Linked DNA regions of Homo sapiens: region 2 is linked to region 1. The links are contacts of gene promoters, found by promoter capture Hi-C in blood cells and fetal thymus (Javierre and others, 2016). All regions are on one chromosome and are shown on one strand. The core of a region is centred on a gene start or on the middle of the fragment in contact, and the rest is flanking DNA. Distances in the headings are between cores, read along the strand shown. Region 1 holds the start of CIMIP5 (ciliary microtubule inner protein 5). Region 2 holds the start of TRIB2 (tribbles pseudokinase 2).

The links. Contacts are between HindIII fragments. The CHiCAGO score rates a contact against its expected background, and 5 or more counts as called.
Region 2: the fragment with the promoter of TRIB2 here is called in contact with the fragment with the promoter of CIMIP5 in region 1 in 2 of 17 cell types (fetal thymus and neutrophils); the score reaches 12.3 in fetal thymus.

What each region holds. Positions count from the first base shown.
Region 1 is chr2:11,131,079-11,134,926 of GRCh38, forward strand. It overlaps CIMIP5 (ciliary microtubule inner protein 5), which reads left to right and starts at 2,050. Exons shown (of 3, transcript NM_001371321.1): 1 at 2,050-2,513. The coding sequence starts at 2,257. It overlaps FLJ33534 (Putative uncharacterized protein FLJ33534), which reads right to left and starts at 1,098. Exons shown (of 9, transcript NR_040080.1): 1 at 937-1,098. The HindIII fragment of the contact is 3,513 bases long and covers 1,628-3,848 here.
Region 2 is chr2:12,715,159-12,719,006 of GRCh38, forward strand. It overlaps TRIB2 (tribbles pseudokinase 2), which reads left to right and starts at 1,778. Exons shown (of 3, transcript NM_021643.4): 1 at 1,778-3,419. The coding sequence starts at 3,150. LOC124905974 (a long non-coding RNA gene) reads right to left here and starts at 1,600. Exons shown (of 2, transcript XR_007086222.1): 1 at 1-1,600. RefSeq lists silencers at 1,366-1,585, 1,676-1,735 and enhancers at 1,688-2,327, 2,176-2,245, 3,607-3,848. The HindIII fragment of the contact is 5,863 bases long and covers 453-3,848 here.

The sequences.
Region 1 (3,848 bases), core at 800-3,299:
CATACATCAGGAACTCAATCAGTTGTGATGGTTTGTCACAGATGCCCTTGCTGGCCTTTTTTGCCCTGGTCCCTGTGTCTGGAGCCTGTGGCCAGGGCTGGAGGTATCTGAGCAAACTGCATGGCTGTTCCCAGCTGCTCAGGGCCACAGCCTGCGGTCAGCCTGACAAAGCCTCCCAGGACACACAGCAAGGACCCCCCAGGACACACCGTCCTCTCTAAAGACACTCACGGGATGCCTTCTGGGGGTTCAGGGAAGCCAGAACCGCTGCTCCTTGGGCATGGCAGGAACCTGTCGTCGCAGTGCAGGGAGCACAGACACCTCCACGAAAACAGCACTCAGAAAAGCCTGACCCAGGGTCCTAGCTCACAGAGGCCCACCCCGCCGCACTCCTGCTGTGCTCATCTTTACCAGGAAAATTTAAGTCACTAGATGCCACCCTGTGTCATCCCAGCTCCAAGGGGAGGAACAGAGGAGAGACAGAGTCCCAGGCCTGCAGCTCTGATTTTAGACTAATGTTTTTCCAAAAGGTCCCATCCCTCAGCTCCGTCCTCATGCAAGTGTGGGAAGACGAAGCTGGCAGCTCTTTCTGGCCTGGCTCTCAGCCCTGTCTTCTCCACGCCAGCCCTCCGCCCGAGCCCAGTAGGGGCTTCGTTGCCACTGCTCACCCACACCACGCCATGGCAATGGTGACCTCACCTGTTTTTTGCCCCTGTCCTGATGGTTCTGTTCCCTGCAGCTCCCTTGGGGCTCACAGCCCATCGGTATCTCCCCACTGGGTGCAGGATACCGTGGAAAATACCCCGGGGCCTGCCCCCATGTGCCCTGCCACCCCCGTCCTTGTCTCCTCCCCCACATCTCCCAAAATACCAGGCTCTCTCTTGCATCCAAGCTTTTGTGGTCACCCCAGTTTTTCTACCTGGCAAGTCCTTTCACCTGTGAAGTCCCAACTCCTTGCTGCCTCCCTCATAGAAGCAGAATCCAGCAGGGGCACACAGGACTGGCTACAGTGCGAGCTCAGTGGTTCACTGGCTGCCCTGCTGCCCTGCACCCCGGGCACTCTGCGCAGGCCTCTATTCGTCAGGGCTTTGTCTGCACTTAGCTCTTCCCTTACAAAGATAGGAAGCAGCGCGCCAGCTGAATGGACCCACAGAGAAGCTGCGTGGAAGGAACTGTGAATCTGCCAGCACCTACCGGAACAGCACAAAACTCAGAGAACCGGAAGCAGAGAGTGCAGGAGGCAGAAGTGATGAGAGCAGCGGGCGTCCATGGAGCTCAGCTGAGCCAGACCAGGAGAGGCTGCCACGGAGGGAGCCTGGTTGTACCCAGTTAGAGCAGAAACAGGGCTGAGGGCTCGGACCATAAGCCCTCAGATTCTCACTGTTCCTTTCAGCTGGTGACTGACTGTGTGACCGTGGGCGGTCACTTAATCTTGCCGGTAAGGGCCTCAGTTTCCTCATCTGTAGAATGGCGTTGGAAAGGCATGGCTGGGAGGTCTCAGATAAAGCAGAGTGCTGTGTGAACGCTCTGGGTTTGCAGACAGAGTGGATGTTCCTAGTGCATTGCACTCATTTTCCTCGCCCAACATAAGCTCATGACTTCCGCCATCGTTCCCAAACAAGCAGGAAGCTTCACACTGATGCCTGATCCACAATTCCCAAAGCGCCCTCAGGGCCACCATTTCTTGCGAGCCTCGCAGCATCCACGAGGGGGCAGCACAGGACTAACATCGCCCCACGGCCTGACGGGCTGCCGGAAGCAAGTGCAATAATGGTGGGGGTGGCCCCCAGGAGCCCCAGCTTTGCTCCCTCCCCCTCCCCCACCCTGTGCGGAGGACTCCGGCCTTGGGGTAGGGGGCTGCTGAACTGGGCGTGGCATCTAGTCAGGAACTCTCTGCCCCCCAGCCCTAGGGCTCAGATCACACACACACACACACACACACACACACACACACACACACACACGGGGCCCGCCCCTTTCCTAGGAGCTGTCCGTTCCCAGGACAACAGTCAACACAGCACAGGCGGGAGTTCAAAACGAAACTGGGCTCAAATGCTCTCCCCAGCCCGGAGAGCCCTGTCCCCATCGGCCACTCTGAGCTCGAGGCCTAAAGGGACAGTGAGGAGGACCCTGCCCAGGCTCTCCCGGGGTTAGGAGGGACAGAGTGTTCCAGGAGGAGGTTTGAGCTGAGCTCAGGCACAGGTCTCTCTCTCTCTCTCTCTGACACAAGCGCACACACACACACACACTTGCACCATGGGGAGCCACCCCACCCCTGGGCTCCAGAGAACCACATCAGCTGGGTACCGATTGCCCCCCACCAGGCCACCAGCCTCGGTCTCCCCAGCTGCCCGGGGTGGCCCTATGGCCAGCAGGGGTCTTGCTGGTGGCTGCCAGGCCCCCCAGGCTCTGAAGGCGCAGCGGGTGGCTCAGGGAGCTGCCTGCGATGGCGTGCAGCAGGACCAGCTGTGGCGGGAGCTCCTGGAGGCCGAGCGGCGGGGCCAGCAGCGCTGGTGAGTACCTGCCCTCCCTTTTCCACCCTGACTCCGCAGCCTGACTGCAAGTTGGGGAAGGTTTTGGAGAAAGGGAGATGGGAGGGCAAATGATCTGGCTGAGGGACAGAGGGCATGGCATGCCCGGGGGAAGGTGGGTCACCAGCCCAGCCCAGAGCCAGACCCGAGCCTGAGCCTAAGAAGCGAGGAAGATGGAAGCCAAGACCAGATGCCGCTGGGTCAGAGCAGCCCCACCTCGTTCATTCCGACTGCGACGCGGCCGGTAATCCCTTGAGCTGGAGCCTGCTGGCCTAGTCTGGGTTAGAGGAGCTGGCTGTCTGACCTGACTCGGGGAAAGGATGCTCCTTCATGCATTCATTCAACCAAAAATACCCATGAGCCGCTCTGAAACGAGACCAGACTGCAACAAGGGACTAGACAGACCTGGCCATGGCTCCACCGAGCCTTCATACTCAGGACAGGGCAGCCAAAAAGCAAGCAGAGAAGCAAACAAGTACAAATCTGTATGAAGTGTGACCAGCGGTAAGAAGGAAACAGTTCAGGGTCGGGGGCAGAGCCGGCTGAAGGCCTCTCTGAGGAGGAGACATTTAAGCTGAGACATGAAATAGGAGAAGGAGCCAAGAGTTTGATGTATCTAAAAAACAAAACAAAGAATTCGTGTAGCTGAGGCACAGGGAGTGAGGAAGGCCACAGGATGAGGGGGAGCAGCGGGGGCCACCCCAGCCCTTATAAAAGTCTGGATGCATTTTTTCCAAAGGAGACACCATCCAGGATTTTAAGCGGGAACATGGCATGATCTCGATTACATTTTTAAGTGAGCAGCCTGATAGATTCTAGGATGCATTCATCTTGCACCACTGAAACTTCATACCCGTTGATTAGCAACGCCCCATTCCCCCTCCTCCCAGCCTCTGGCACCCACCATTCTAGTCTTTGCTTCCAGGAGTCTATTTTCAGTGCCTCATAGAAGTGGAATTGTGCAATATTTGACTTTCCATGTCTGTTTTGTTAGTATCCTGTCCTCCAGGTTCATCCATCTTGTTGCATATCGCAGAATTTCCTCCCATTTTAAGGGTGAATGTATATATGTGTGCAGTTTCTTTATTCATTTGTCAATGGACTTTTAGGTTGCTTCCACATTTGACTATTATGTGTAGTGCTACAATGGGCATGGGAGTGATTTCAGTTCTTTTGGAGAAATTCTCAAAAATGGATATCTTAGTCCATTTTGCATTGCTGTCAAGGAACACCTGAGGCTGGGTAATTTATAAAGAGGTTTATTTGGCTCACAGTTCTGCAGGCTGTACGAGCATAGTCCTGGAATCCACTTGGCTT
Region 2 (3,848 bases), core at 528-3,027, 1.6 Mb after region 1:
CAACCACATGAGGTGAGCAGGGCGGGTATTATGCTTCTCATCTTACAGATGAAGAAACAGGGATCTAGGGAGAAAAAACAAGGTCTTCACCCAATTTCCATTTGAAATCAGAGACCCAGCCAGGGCTAGCACACAGGTGTCCCAACCCCTAATTATTACAAAGCTCTCTTGGCCACTGCATAGAGGAGGCTAGGCACCTCTCTTTCTGACTCAACAGCAGGGGTTGCTTCGAGACTGTTCCTAACACAGGCCAAGTGTCTTCCTGGGGTAAGACTGGATTAGGGGACCCTGCTCGGTCAGTGGTCCTGGTGATCGCCTAGGGAAATAGATCTATTCTGCTGGGATCTGGGACTGAATCCTAGGCAGGTTTGTGGGGAGTAGGATGGTGAGAGGTGCTGGAAGGCACGGGTCCACTTCTTAACCTTCCTTTTAACTCTGTGCTGCTGGGTGGAAGCTTTATAGTCAATGTCCTCTCCATCTCTGGCCACATTCCCAGGACTCCTGATCATTAGAGTGACTGTTGTCCCAAGTGGACATAATTATAAATAGCTCCCTTCTTTTACTGAAAGTGTCCTACAGTGGACAATAATTTAGTCCCCTCCTCCAGTGGAAAATATACTACACGCATGCAAAAGCTCAGAGGGCTCCAGGAGTCGTCCCAACTCCCCTTTCTCAGTTCCTTGGGATTTTTTTTTTTAAGTTTGTCCTCTACTAGATCGCTTCTCATTCACCAGGATATCTTAGATCAAGGCTGGCGTTTGAAGCCTCTGCCTGAGTTCAAGCCCCTTGCTTCCGGTGTTCCTGTCCAAGCCCGCGGACTGGAATCTCCCAAGGAAGTTACGAATAATTCGGGGGGGGTGGCGAAATGGGGGGTGGAGTGGGGCGTGAAACTGCAGCCTTCACCTGGCTAACAGAAGAGGACTCAGGACGCCCAGCACCCTGGATAGGACCCAACAGCGCTCCCTGGAGGTGTGGGTGCAAAGTTTTGTCTAGCTTGGCCTCCAAGGCCCTCCAGGCAATGCACTGGGAAGGGAAGAATTAGTGATTAAATTTGACCTGAATCAAAAGATGCCTTCAGTTCCTCTTCTGCTGAAAACACTAGAAATACAAGCCCAGGATGTGGGGATCGGGGGCAAGCGGTGACACCAACTAAAAGGAAGCAATGGATTTCCTTTTAAATGGAGAGGAGGATGTCGGAGAGATACCATGAAACGAATTCTCGAAACTCCAGGCAGCAATACCGATGAAAGCGCATTCTTCCAAAACAGAGCTCCTCATTCAGGGCCACATCTGAGCCTGGGGGCCCAATGCTCAGAGCGTGCCTGGCTTTCTGGGGAAAAGCGCCAGGAACATGAACGAGCTACGAAGAGCTGGAGCGGGCGCTGCGGGAGCAGCGTGTGGGGAACGGCTCGGGAGTCGCTGCTGGTAACCCCGGCCCAGCCGCCCGCAGCTGGGCTCGCAGCCGGCTCGCAGCCGACACCCAGGGTGCTGCGCCCGGGGCCCCGGGCCGCGGAAGGATATTTCACTTTGTTTACCTCCCCGGCCGGGCGAGGGAGCTGCGAGGCCGGTGCTGGCGCCCCCGGCACGGAGCTGCAATGGCAGCGGCGCGGGGAGCCGCCCGAGGACTGGCAGCGGCGGGGCTGATTGATGGGCGCCCGGCGCAATGAGGGGGGCCCGGGCGGGGGCGGGGCGGGGCCGGCTCTGGGCTGAGCCAGTCGCGGGGGCGGCGGGGGGGGGGCGGAGGCTCCGTGGAAATGTGTCGGTGACATTGAATGGGGAGACCGAGCGCGAGCGAGGCGCGCGCGCGCACACGCGCACTCACGGCCCCGCTCGCTCCGAGATCCCCGGCCACGTAAGTAACTATTAATACCGCCTCGCCGGGGGATGCGGGCGTGCTGAGCGCGGGGATTGGCCTCGGGCACCGTCGGCCGTCCCCTTTAATTTTTAAATACACGGTCCCCTCTTTTCTCTGGGGGGGGCAAGCAAGAAATCAAAGAAGGAGGAGACAAGCCGTCAATTTTCTCCAAAACAAACCCCACCGGGCAATTTGGTCTCGGGGTAGGGGGAGACGGGGTGATTGCAAATTATTCCAGGACGAGATCCAGTTCTCCAGCGGGAAAGGGGCAAAGGAACGCCGCGCGTTGGAAGGGCCAGGGACGCAGCTCCCCTTGCAGCGCCCGCAGGACCCCCGCAAGCTCGTGCCGGCGAAATCGGAGACCGCCGATCTGTCCTCGTTCTCTCCTGCACGTCTGGCTGCATTCGGAGGAAGACCTGGGGCGCGAGCGAGCGGCGACAGCATGAGCCTGTGCTGACCTCCGCGCGGCGGGCCGAGCCCAGGGCTTTGTCGCGGTACCTGCGCCCAGCCCGCGCCGCAACTCTGTGCCCAGCTTTTGCAATCTTTTGTTGGCAGCGCTGACCGCACCAAGTTAAATGCTCCCTTGCAATTTTTCTTTTTTTTGTTTGTTTGTTTAATTTTTGGAGAGCTCGCGATCTTGGAAAAGCCTCAGACGCCATCTACAGTTAAAACGTAGGTAACTGCCCTCTCCCGCACCCCCCCCTTACACGCCCCCCACCCTTTCCACCAAAAAAAGGGGGTGCAGCGCGGATTCTGGCTGCCGTGCGTCGCCAGCCGGTAGACCCGTGCTTGTTTCCTTTCTCTTTTTGTTTGGCTTCTAACGCGTTGGGACTGAGTCGCCGCCGTGAGCTCCCCGAAGACTGCACAAACTACCGCGGGCTCCTCCGCCCCGTCTGCGATTCGGAAGCCGGCCTGGGGGTCGCGTCGGGAGCCCTGGCGCTGCAGCTCCGCACCTTAGCAGCCCGGGTACTCATCCAGATCCACGCCGGGGACACACACACAGAGTAACTAAAAGTGCGGCGATTCTGCACATCGCCGACTGCTTTGGGGTAACAAAAAGACCCGAGTTGCCTGCCGACCGAGGACCCCCGGGAGCCGGGCTCGGAGCAGACGAGGTATCCGGCGGCGCCCATTTGGGGGCTTCTAACTCTTTCTCCACGCAGCCCCTCTTCTGTCCCCTCCCCTCTCGCTCCCTTTTAAAATCAGTGGCACCGAGGCGCCTGCAGCCGCACTCGCCAGCGACTCATCTCTCCAGCGGGTTTTTTTTTGTTTGTCGTGTGCGATCCTCACACTCATGAACATACACAGGTCTACCCCCATCACAATAGCGAGATATGGGAGATCGCGGAACAAAACCCAGGATTTCGAAGAGTTGTCGTCTATAAGGTCCGCGGAGCCCAGCCAGAGTTTCAGCCCGAACCTCGGCTCCCCGAGCCCGCCCGAGACTCCGAACTTGTCGCATTGCGTTTCTTGTATCGGGAAATACTTATTGTTGGAACCTCTGGAGGGAGACCACGTTTTTCGTGCCGTGCATCTGCACAGCGGAGAGGAGCTGGTGTGCAAGGTAAAGGGCCAGTGGGTTGCTTTTTGTCTTTGGAAGGGGCCCGAGGGAGCGGGAGGGCGCCAGGCCCTCGAGTCTGGGAGAGGGAGATTCGCGGGATAATTACCGTGGCCTTATTAAATGGGTTTATTTATTTATTTGCTCAGGTTCGGTAAGTTGCGAAGTTTTTAGACCGTTTCAGACAATGGGGCGGGCGGCAGTGGGGGCGTTTCGGGGAGAGCCCGGGGAGGAGAGGGCGGCGGGACTGCGCGGGGGCCACGGACACGCGTGCACCGAAGGCTCCAGGAGCTCTCTGCGCGAGGCCGGGTCCCGCTGCCCGGGGGGGATTTCTTCCTGTGTCTAGCCCCCTCCCCTTCCAACAAGGATTAGGGAATCCCCCGGTAATTTTAAGACTGATGACTTCGTTCTTTTCGCAGCCATTGTTCTTAGCAG